Regions from separate parts of the Homo sapiens genome. Here region 1 is linked to region 2. The links are contacts of gene promoters, found by promoter capture Hi-C in blood cells and fetal thymus (Javierre and others, 2016). All regions are on one chromosome and are shown on one strand. The core of a region is centred on a gene start or on the middle of the fragment in contact, and the rest is flanking DNA. Distances in the headings are between cores, read along the strand shown. Region 1 holds the start of ACSM6 (acyl-CoA synthetase medium chain family member 6). Region 2 holds the start of CYP2C8 (cytochrome P450 family 2 subfamily C member 8).

Region 1 (5,454 bases), core at 716-3,215, 120 kb before region 2:
TCAAGAGCTGAGCAAAGGAACAAGGCTCTGCATGGTGCCAGATGCCATGCGGGCACAAAGAGATAAAAGGCACAACGCTAGCCCTAGAATCTTACTGGGACCCAGGACTCACACATAGTGCCTGGTGGTAGAACACAAGCTAAGAAAAGCAGAGGAGAGAGAAAGCAGCACAGGCTGGGCTGGGAAGGCAGAATGGGTGGGGAGGGCACCCCAAGAGGGGGCACAGCTCAGCAAAGATGAAAGCACCCCAAAGTCCTTCAGGATACATGCCTCAAACCTTTTCAAGGAGCTTTCACAATCCTTGCTCTACAGAATTTTTGTTCTTTGGCCCAAATGGGTAAAAATTAAGTCTCCTAAACAGAAGTCTTCCCTCTTATCTAACCCTAGATGATGCACCAAAGGCAGTAAGTATATTTTGCACAAAGACAATGAATTACTGTTTTGTCCACTTTCCTTACTCCTCCCAAAGCGGGTGATGAAGGTGGGGAGGGCCAGGAAGGGGCCTGGGGAGGGGAGGAGAATAGAGGGGCAATCAGATATTACACATGCAAATAACTCTCGCTGCTCACTCTCCACACGCACTGGATTCTCCTGCGGGCACCACCAGCCCCACTTGACAGAGGGAGGAAATGAGGCTCAGAGAGTTAAAATGACTTGCTCCAGAGTTACCTAGCCAGAGAGTAAGCAAGTCCACTCCACACAGCAGGGCCTTTCAAAATTAGACTGCTTCCTGCCTGTTTTCTCCTCATAACTCAATACTCTTCCCTCTGACCCTATACCTAGCCAAACTGTTCCTGAATACTCTTCCTTCTTTCCATGATGTCTCTATTCATGTGGTTGTTCCTGCCTAGACAGTCTTTCCCTTGTCTTTTTGTTGAAATTCTTCTCATTCTTCAGGATGCAGTAAATACCACCTCCTTTATCAAATCTTTCTAAATTCCATTATCCAGAGGCATACTTATACTTATTTCCTTTGGCACTTCTTTTTCAGCACTTTGTGGCTATCATTTGCTTTAAAGAAAAACACTACGCAGTAAGTTCCTTTAGTGTTTGGCTTCTAAAATTTTGTATGTGCTAGAAGATGCTCAAAAATGTTGGTTAATTAGAATCATATCTATGTGACAATAATATTACTAGTGATAATAAAAGCTAACTTTTATTGAGTGTTTTCAGGGTGTTGAGTCCTGTGCTAAACACTTTTTATTGATTGTCTCATTTAATCTTCTCGACAACACTGTGAAAAACACACCATTAATATCTCAATTTTACTGATAACAAAACTAAGGTCCTAGAAGGCAAATAACTTGTCCAAGTTTGCATGGTTATTTAGCAGCAGAGCCAGGATTTCAATGTAGAACCATCTGGCTGTCAAGCCTATGTTCTTAGTCATTTTGCTATAATTTCTTTTCTCTGAATTTGCACTTTCTAGTGCCAGCCATAGATGGGATATGAATCTCATGATCTTTGGACGCTTTACCAACTGGCCTTGGCCAAAGTTTCCAAGGTAGAAAACAACAAGTTTTACCTTTTCCAGCTGGGACCACTGATCCAACACATCCTTTGCAAAATTAAAGTTCTGAGAAACTGCTTGGACTAGGCACCTGGAGTCAGGGGGTCTGATGGTCTGAGTAGCACATTTTTGGTTTGGATAGCAGCAGGCTTCAAATCCCAGTCTGAAACTCCGGACCAAGGAGAAGGGTTGAAATCGGCCTAGCATTTGGGTCAGACAGGGAACCACCTAGGTAAATTGAGGAAAAGACAGGGAGTAATTGAGCAGCTCAGAGGGATAATCACTGAGATTGTAGTGCTGAGAATGAATCCATAAGGCAAACAATTTCCTTATGAGTACAAGCAACAGTCAGATCATTGGAGAAGAAGCCCATGAGCACAGATACTTACCAATTCCAAGAGGAGTTTCTATGGGGGGCTTCAGATGTTTGGAGGATGGTAGAGCTGTTGCCTTCTGTCTCCTCTGAGAACTGCTTACCTCTTATAGTTTAGTTGCCGGCTCTGGGGAAAAAGGCATTTCCTTGGTGCCAGCACAAACTAAGTCCTGGCTCACTTTCATTGGCTCTCAAGCCTAAAAGGCAATCTCTTTTGCTTCTGGGAGATAAAATCTATGGGCTGTGAGCTAAGTTGAAGCAACAGGTGTGCCTTGCTTTCTGATATGATGTCAGGAGAAATAGGTCACAGACTACTGTGCCAAGTGTGGTGAAAAGATGATGGACACAGAGTTTAAATAAGATTTTGTTGCTTACAAAATCCTGCACTGCAGAAAGGGAGAAGGGGGTTGCTCATCAGCCAGGTGAGGTAACCACACCCTGCCTCTTTAACCCACTGAGATGACAGGCCTTTTTTTTTTTTTTTTTTTTTTTTTTAAATAAATAGGCACATCGAAGGCCCTCTAGGGATTGCCTCTCGAGGTAGTGTAGGTGAAAGTCTCGTACTCAAGGTAGTGTAGGTGAAAGTCTTGCAACAATCAGGTAGGGAGCCAGATCTCATGATCCTCAGCGGGGGGCGGTGGGAGGGTCCACCTTGGAGCCTCAAATTAGCAAAACTAAAATTTGAAAGGGGGTGTGTATAACATATATTTAAAAGAGGTCACAATATTTGTTTAATAAAATATTGAAGATTTATTGTTTTGATAAGATTTTAACTTTATTTATAACTGTGTGAGGTGTAACTTGGTTACTGGTGGTTGAAGTTCTTCATCACAATTCCTATCCATGTTTCCAGTCGCCAGAGGGAGTAAAATAATGTAAGCTTTGGATGATGGGTTCACTTATTCGCATTCCAGAAATCTGAGATTTAATGGTTTCAATTTGATGATATTAACATTGTAACTATATCTAATATTAGAACTAAAATATTCCAATAAATTATCTAGTCCAAGTACTGCCTAAAACATCACGCTGCCTTTAAGATGAATAAACTCCTTATTGTGGTGCATTGGTTAGATATAAGTTTGGCTGCTTCAACAAAGACACAAAATAGTAAATTTGTTTCTTCAATTGACAGTCTGAGCATATGCAGTGAAAAGCTGTTTGTATTAGTCAGGGTTCTCCAGAAAAACAGAACCAATAGGAAATAGAGAAATAAAGATGAATATAGATACAGATATGTGAGAGGGACTTACTAGGGGAATTAGCTCATGTGATTATGGAGGCTGAGAAGTCCTATGGTGTAAGCTGAAGAACAAGAGAAGTTGGTAGTGTGGCTTAGTCCAAGTTTGAAATCTTTAGAACCAGGGAAGCCAATGGCCTAACTCTCAATTTGAGGCTGAAGGGCTGAGAACCTGAAGTTCTGATATCCAAGGGCAGGAGAATAAGGGTGTTCCAGTTCCAGGAGGGGGAGAGGTAGATAGACACACACACACACACACACACACACGGAAAGAGAGAGAAATTTTCCCTTTCTCAGCTTTTCATTGCATCTAGGCCCTCAGCCAATAAGATGGCGCCTACCACATTGAGGGTGGATCTTTCCCACTCAATCCACCTACTCACACACCAATATCCTTCAGAAGCACCCTCACAGGCACATCAAGAAATGAATACTTTACCAGATATCTAGGTATCTCTGAATCCAGTCAAGTTGACACCTAAAATCATCCATCACACTGGTTTAGTATCTTCACCCTTTCAGGGACCCAGATTCTTTCTGTAACGTTGCTCCACCATCTTTAGGGCATTTCTGAAACAACTTGCCATCACGTCCATATTCCATCCAGTGGGACGGGAGAGTGGTGAGGGGAAGAACATTCCCCTTGCCTAGGTGAATAACTAGAAATTTTTACACATTACCTCTGCTCATATTCCATTGGCGCAGACTTAAGTTATGTGGCTTCAGAAAGAGTCTGGGAACTGTGATCTTTATTCTGAGTGCCTATATGCTCAACTAAGAACTGGAGATTCCATATGCATGAGAGAGATGTGGGCATGAATACTGAGAGACAACTAGCATTTTCCATCACAGTCTATTCATTGACTATCCATGAACACAACATGGAACAGTTTTCCCATTTATAGAATATTCTCCAAGAAGCATAACCTCTAAGTCTCACAGAATTGCTACATCTAACTCAAAATTCAAGATGGAGGGTATTGCTCAGTTCTCTTCAACCAACAGGGATGGGGTCCCTGCCATATGGCAAACTAGAAACTAAAACATAAGTTATCTCTACTCTCCAAACAACCCACTCTTTAGGTCTGAAGTGGGAACCATAAAATTGCATGGAAAACTCCAAGACTGGAAAGAGAAAAATGAGCATTACCCAGCTGACTTGGGCCCAGCAATACCCAGTTGTCAAATCCTGCTGGGCAGGAATGGTGAAAGCATACATCCTGGCAGTGTTTGGGTTCTCAGCTCACTTGGCAAGTACTAATTCTGCTTTCTGGGAGGCAATCTCACCTTTGCTGTCATCTCGATATTTGGCTTGCCTTCTGGAAAGCCATTTCTTGTTTGTGATCCTCTTTGGCCATATCTGAAGTGGCACTGGTGAATATGCCCTTCTTGAGGACAGCATGGCTTTTGTAGCCCACCTCATGCTGGTACAGAACTGGGGTCTCAGGAGTTCTATTATGGGTCAAACTAGTCTATGTATCAGAAAGTCCAGACTTACGAGTATTTTTTTTTGTCATACAATTTCCTCAAGCATTTGGCTTCTGGTCTACTTTCCTTAGATAAATTCCATGTGTAAATAGACATAATCAAATATTTTGTCAAAACATAGCTTGCAGGCCTGGAAAGTATGATCTTCTATATACTGGCTTCTGGGCTTCACCAATCCTCCCTACTAACTTAATGGTAGCTACTTTGGGGCAATTCAAAATTATAGGTTTGGGTAAAATGGGAATGTAACCAGTTTCCCTTTAGGTTTGCTGTATGGAGAAGGTGACTGAGAAATCCTAGGTACATTGTCCTGCTAAAACTATCTCTATTTCTTTTATAAATGTTTTATGATTTTCAGTTTACAAGTCCTTCAGCTCTGTGGTTAAATTTATTTCTAAATATCTTAATTTATTTTTCATGCTCTTGTAAGTGGAATGGTTTCCTTGATTTCTTTTTCAGATAGTTTGTTTTTAGTGTATAGAAACACCACTAATTTTTGTATGTTAGTTTTATCTCCTGCAGCATTACTGAATTGGTTTATTAGTTCTAACAGGTTTTTGGTGAAGTCTTTAGGTTTTCTCTATATAAGATCATGTTTTCTACAAACATTGGCAATCTAACTTCTTTCATTTTGATTTGGAGGCCTTGTATTTCTTTTTCTTGCCTAGTTGCTCTGGTTAAAATTAACAGTGTTATGTTGATAGCAATGGTGAGAGTGGGCATTATTGTCTTGCTCCTGATCTTAGGGAAAAGCTAGTTGACTGTAATGTTAGCTGTAGGCTTGTATATATGGGTTTTATTATTTTGAGGTACATATATGTACCTTCTATATGTAATTTGTTG
Region 2 (5,234 bases), core at 1,512-4,011:
GATGGTGGATATATGGCATTATACATCAGTCAAATTTATAGAATGTACAACACAAACAGTAAACCCTATGTGAACTTCGAACTTTGGTTGATGATTATGTCTTATTGTTGGCTCACTGACTGTAACTAATGAACCCCACTGATGGGGGTTGTTGATTGTGGGAAAGACTATTTGTAGGTGTGGTGAAGGGGTTTGTGGGAACTGTTGCTCGGAGCCTAAAATTGCTATAAAAATAAATTCTATTAATTAAAAAAAAACCCCGCTCTAATTCACAACCCTATCCAAGCTGAGGTGGGTGTCAATCTGTGACTGTAGAGGGCTTAATTAATGCTAATACACTCTTGATCATTTGGACTTAGGTGGGAATTCTATAGGATAGGGTATTTCACTGAACCACCAAGCAGGAAAACTGGGATTCTAATACAAAATCTTTTACTGGTGCATTGATAATGCTCTAACTCACTGAGTCACCAATTGCTCATTCCTGAAAAACAAAGCAAAATTAAATTAGTAGATCTCAGAGATCCCGTCTGTCTTTAAATTATCTATGTTCCTTTTATTCTATAAAAAGAAAGGTCAAGGCAGGAGCCTCAGCTCAGGAGAAGAAACAAGGAGCAGAGCAAGGGCAACTGTTTCTCAAGGAATAAAATTATTGCTCTAAAGAGAGAAAGTGAACTTATTTTATCCAAATAAACTAGCTTATACCTACGTGAGTGAGGCAGCAAATTACTACTTCCCTTTGCCCTGGATAAAGGGTTCACCAGGACCTGGACTCACTCACCTTTTAAAGGTTATAAAACCAAACACGTCTGACCCACATTTTACTCAACTGGTGCTAGAATTATTAACTAAATTAATGTTTATTTTGAAAGTCACTGATTAGATTAATCCACAAGTATTGAATTTTAGTCAATCTTGGTGGCCCGGTTTAACTGGATGTTTTGCTTAAAAGGAAGGCAGCAAGATGCAGGGGTTATGGTTTCCAGCCCCAGCTTGGTCACTTGCATTCTGTGTGTCCTTAGCTAAAGTACTGAATCTCCATGGTCTAACTTTCTCCTCTCTAAACTGGGAATAATTTTACAGTGGGCAAAGATAATTGAGAGAATAAAAAGAGATGTGATGAGTGTGAAAATTCTCTGTAAATTTGTCATAATGTCTATAAACATAATCGATAAAACATTGTATAACTGGGTCTTAATATTTTCTTAATGAAAGAGCTGGAAATAACTGTACTGGTCAATTTAGAATAAAGGTAATCTTTTCAGAGCATGCCTTTGTATACACACTTTGTTATTAGTGATCTAGTAATGTTCATAAATCCAGTTGTATTTAGATCTTCATGACCATTGACTATCAGTTCCCATTTCAGGTCTGCACATTGCAGTGGTTCTGTGCCCTGGGTCCATTCAGTGATTTCCCTGTGTTCCATCTTCTGTTGAATCCACAACTGTTGTTCTGTGTATAATTTCTCTTCCTTGCTGTGTATGATTACATTCTATTATTTGTAACAATAACAGACCAAAAACAATAGAAGCAGCCATGTCTGGAGGTGACTGGAAGGTGGAGAAGCCATAGATTTTCAAGCCCTGTGCCATAAATTATGTGAGATTGGCCCTTTCCTTAATAGTGCTGAACAACTTTCACTTGTGAGGTGATGCAGAGGGGAGAACTCTAATTTTTATTTCTTCTTTTGAGCGTCTCCGGTCCTCTTATCCTTATAAACAAATAACGGACTTCTATTTAATGTGAAGCCTGTTGCTTTCTGAACAGAGTCAAGGTGGCGTATCTTCAGAGTAACTAATGTCTGGGGTTTGTTTTGTTTTTCTAAAATTGTTCTTGAGCCAGCTGTGGTGTAAGTGGTAATGAACCCCAATGGGTATCAGAAGATCTCTGCTCAAATCCCGGTTTTACCGGCAATGAGCTGTGTGGCACTGACAGGTGTCCTGTTCTCCCAGAGTTTCTTTCCCAATTTGAAAAATAAAAAATGATAATCTTTATACTCCAGTCTCTTTTAATGATGAATATACATTTATATATATACTTTTATATATTTAATATAATATTTAATAGTATAAATATGTATTTATGTTATTATTATGTAATAATGTATGTAACACTCCCTGCTAATTCAGTTTGTCTCTTTGACATGTAAAGTAAATAATCACCTATTATTATAATAATGTAATAATAACACAAATATTATTATGTAATAACATATATATTTATGTATATTGTTTATATACATTTAAATATATATAAATATACATTTATTAGCTAATAATTTGATATATGTATGGTAATTCAACATGTATGAGTTATATTCACTATTTCATGTTTAGGCAGCTGTATTTTAAGTGAACTATACTAAATATTTGAAAGGCTTTTGTTATCAAGGGCTAAGTCTCCTATTTTTTGATATAGCATTACAATGTACATTTTTTATACACAAAATATAGAATACACTGATTTCCCTCAAGGTCATAAATTCCCAACTGGTCATTAATCTGAGAATATTGAATTTTGAGTATATTCTAACATAGAATCATTTACTTCAGTGTTTCTCCATCATCACAGCACATTGGAACAACCAGGGACTTTTAATTAAAAATACCTGGGCTCCAATCCAATACAATTAAACCAGAATCTCCTAGATTGGCACTGGAAAGAAGGAGTAGGACAAAAGAACATTTTATTTCTATCCATGGGCCAAAGTCCACTCAGAAAAAAAGTATAAATTGGATCTAGGTGATTGTTTACTTTACATGTCAAAGAGACACACACTAAATTAGCAGGGAGTGTTATAAAAACTTTGGAGTGCAAGCTCACAGCTGTCTTAATAAGAAGAGAAGGCTTCAATGGAACCTTTTGTGGTCCTGGTGCTGTGTCTCTCTTTTATGCTTCTCTTTTCACTCTGGAGACAGAGCTGTAGGAGAAGGAAGCTCCCTCCTGGCCCCACTCCTCTTCCTATTATTGGAAATATGCTACAGATAGATGTTAAGGACATCTGCAAATCTTTCACCAATGTAAGTCTGCCTTATGTTCCTCCAGCCAATTGCAAAGGGTAAGTTATTTGACTGCTATTTTTAGACAAAATATATTCCTGGAAGCACACTATTATAATAGATCATTGTAAAGCAAAATACTCCCTCTGAACTTCTTTGATGTTTCTTTTGTCTTCCTATTTTTTTTTTTTTTGAGACGGAGTCTCGCTCTATTGCCCAGGCTGGAGTGCAGTGGCACTATCTCCACTCACTGCAAGCTCTGCCTCCCAGGTTCACACCATTCTCCTGCCTCAGCCTCCCCCGAGTAACTGGGACTACAGGTGCCCTCCACCATGCCCGGCTAATTTTTTGTATGTTTTAGTAGAGACAGGGTTTCACCGTGTTAGCCAGAATGGTCTCAGTCTCCTGACCTCATGATCTGCCTGCCTTGGCCTCCCAAAGTGCTGGGATTACATGTGTGAGCCACCGTACCTGGCCTCTTTTGTCTTTCTAAGTCTGTCATTGTCAGAAATAGCGGAGTGAGTTGATGCATTTTGTGAATACAGAAACATTGGGGTCATTGTATTATATAATCATTTAATACAGTGGCAAAAGTTTAAAGTGCTGTTTCTCCTCTTTGTTTCACAGTGTTTTGCTATGATTTTTGACTGAAGGTGAAGGGAAGTGTGTGTGATTAGAAATTTCATCCAATAAGTTCTCTACTATAGTAGTCATGTGTTTTATTCAGAATGGTCATGAAAATTGAACTTCTCTGAAGATTCATTTGATGGCTGATGTGAAATAAATATCTGTGGGTTCAGGGCAAACATAAGTGCATGAAAGAAAGAAGTAATCAGTCAGGGCCCAATAGGTAGTTAACAGAATTCTTTTGGATTCTGAAGAAAGCCACTGTCTGTGGCCAAGGTTGCTGGAGAATGGAAGAAATTGTTCTTCCAGGAGATGCTGAATGTCCTGATTCTAACTTTGTGGTGCTTCATCGTTCCATATTGGTAATACCAGCAGTTACAAACTGGACTGGGCATTAGAATCACCTGGGGTGACACTGTAAATACAGATTTCTAGGGTTCATCACAGGACTGCTGTATCAGAATCCTCATGTTAAGAGCTTTACAAGTGACCCTGAAGTCTTTAGCTGGGTAGTGGCCTCAAGGTGGACATGGGGGATTGATTAATTGCTCAAGCATCAGTTTAAATTAGCAGAGATTCCAGTTTGGAGCTTCTACATATTACCTGTGGGACTCTGAGAATGAATCTGCAATTCTCTGGCCTCAGTTTCTTCATTTTTAAAACAGGTCAAATGAATGTGCTGAATGTGTTGAAGTGAGGATGAACTGTGTGATTTGTGTACCAATTGCCTGGGTCATTGCGTGGCACATCACAGGCCATCTATAAGTGGCAGCTATAACAATCACCATCACATTTATGTACAAAATTCAGAAATATCGAATCTATGTGTGGCAAATATGAACATTAAAAAATACAATGAAAATGTCAGTCTGAATCATACATAGTATTTGGAGCAAATAGCGACTTATTTTGCTGCTATTTGCATTTCCTTTCCCAGTTCTCAAAAGTCTATGGTCCTGTGTTCACCGTGTATTTTGGCATGAATCCCATAGTGGTGTTTCATGGATATGAGGCAGTGAAGGAAGCCCTGATTGATAATGGAGAGGAGTTTTCTGGAAGAGGCAATTCCCCAATATCTCAAAGAATTACTAAAGGACTTGGTAGGTGCACATATTTCTGTGTCAGCTTTGGTAACTGGGGTGAGGGGGATGGAAAACAGAGCCCTAAAAAGCTTCTCAGCAGAGCTTAGCCTATCTGCATGGCTGCCAAGTGTTGCAGCACTTTCTTCCTTGGCTGTGAATTCTCCCAGTTTCTGCCCCTTTTTTTATTAGGAATCATTTCCAGCAATGGAAAGAGATGGAAGGAGATCCGGCGTTTCTCCCTCACAACCTTGCGGAATTTTGGGATGGGGAAGAGGAGCATTGAGGACCGTGTTCAAGAGGAAGCTCACTGCCTTGTGGAGGAGTTGAGAAAAACCAAGGGTGGGTGACTCTACTCTGCGTCATTGACCTTAACAGTTACCTGTCTTCACTAGTGACGTCCTTGGAAACATTTCAGGGGTGGCCAGGTCTTCATTGCGCATCCTGGTTGTCAGCCCTCAGGTGGTGGAGGGAGATTTGAAGCACAGAGACAAGGGAGGTTTTGTGTATCTGTGCTTTGCCTGTA

Evidence for each region. Contacts are between HindIII fragments. The CHiCAGO score rates a contact against its expected background, and 5 or more counts as called.
Region 1: a contact is called between the fragment with the promoter of ACSM6 here and the fragment with the promoter of CYP2C8 in region 2, in 7 of 17 cell types (total CD4 T cells, monocytes, non-activated CD4 T cells and 4 more). The highest score is 11.1, in total CD4 T cells.

The regions. Positions count from the first base shown.
Region 1 is chr10:95,190,749-95,196,202 of GRCh38, reverse strand. ACSM6 (acyl-CoA synthetase medium chain family member 6) reads right to left here and starts at 1,965. Exons shown (of 11, transcript NM_207321.3): 1 at 1,900-1,965; 2 at 1,526-1,738. The coding sequence starts at 1,717. The region is part of intron 3 of LOC107984257 (a long non-coding RNA gene); the gene reads left to right. The HindIII fragment of the contact is 2,815 bases long and covers 1-2,765 here.
Region 2 is chr10:95,067,024-95,072,257 of GRCh38, reverse strand. CYP2C8 (cytochrome P450 family 2 subfamily C member 8) reads left to right here and starts at 2,761. Exons shown (of 9, transcript NM_000770.3): 1 at 2,761-3,023; 2 at 4,567-4,729; 3 at 4,901-5,050. The coding sequence starts at 2,856. RefSeq lists a cis regulatory region at 926-946 and a promoter at 1-2,856. The HindIII fragment of the contact is 5,972 bases long and covers 1-4,802 here.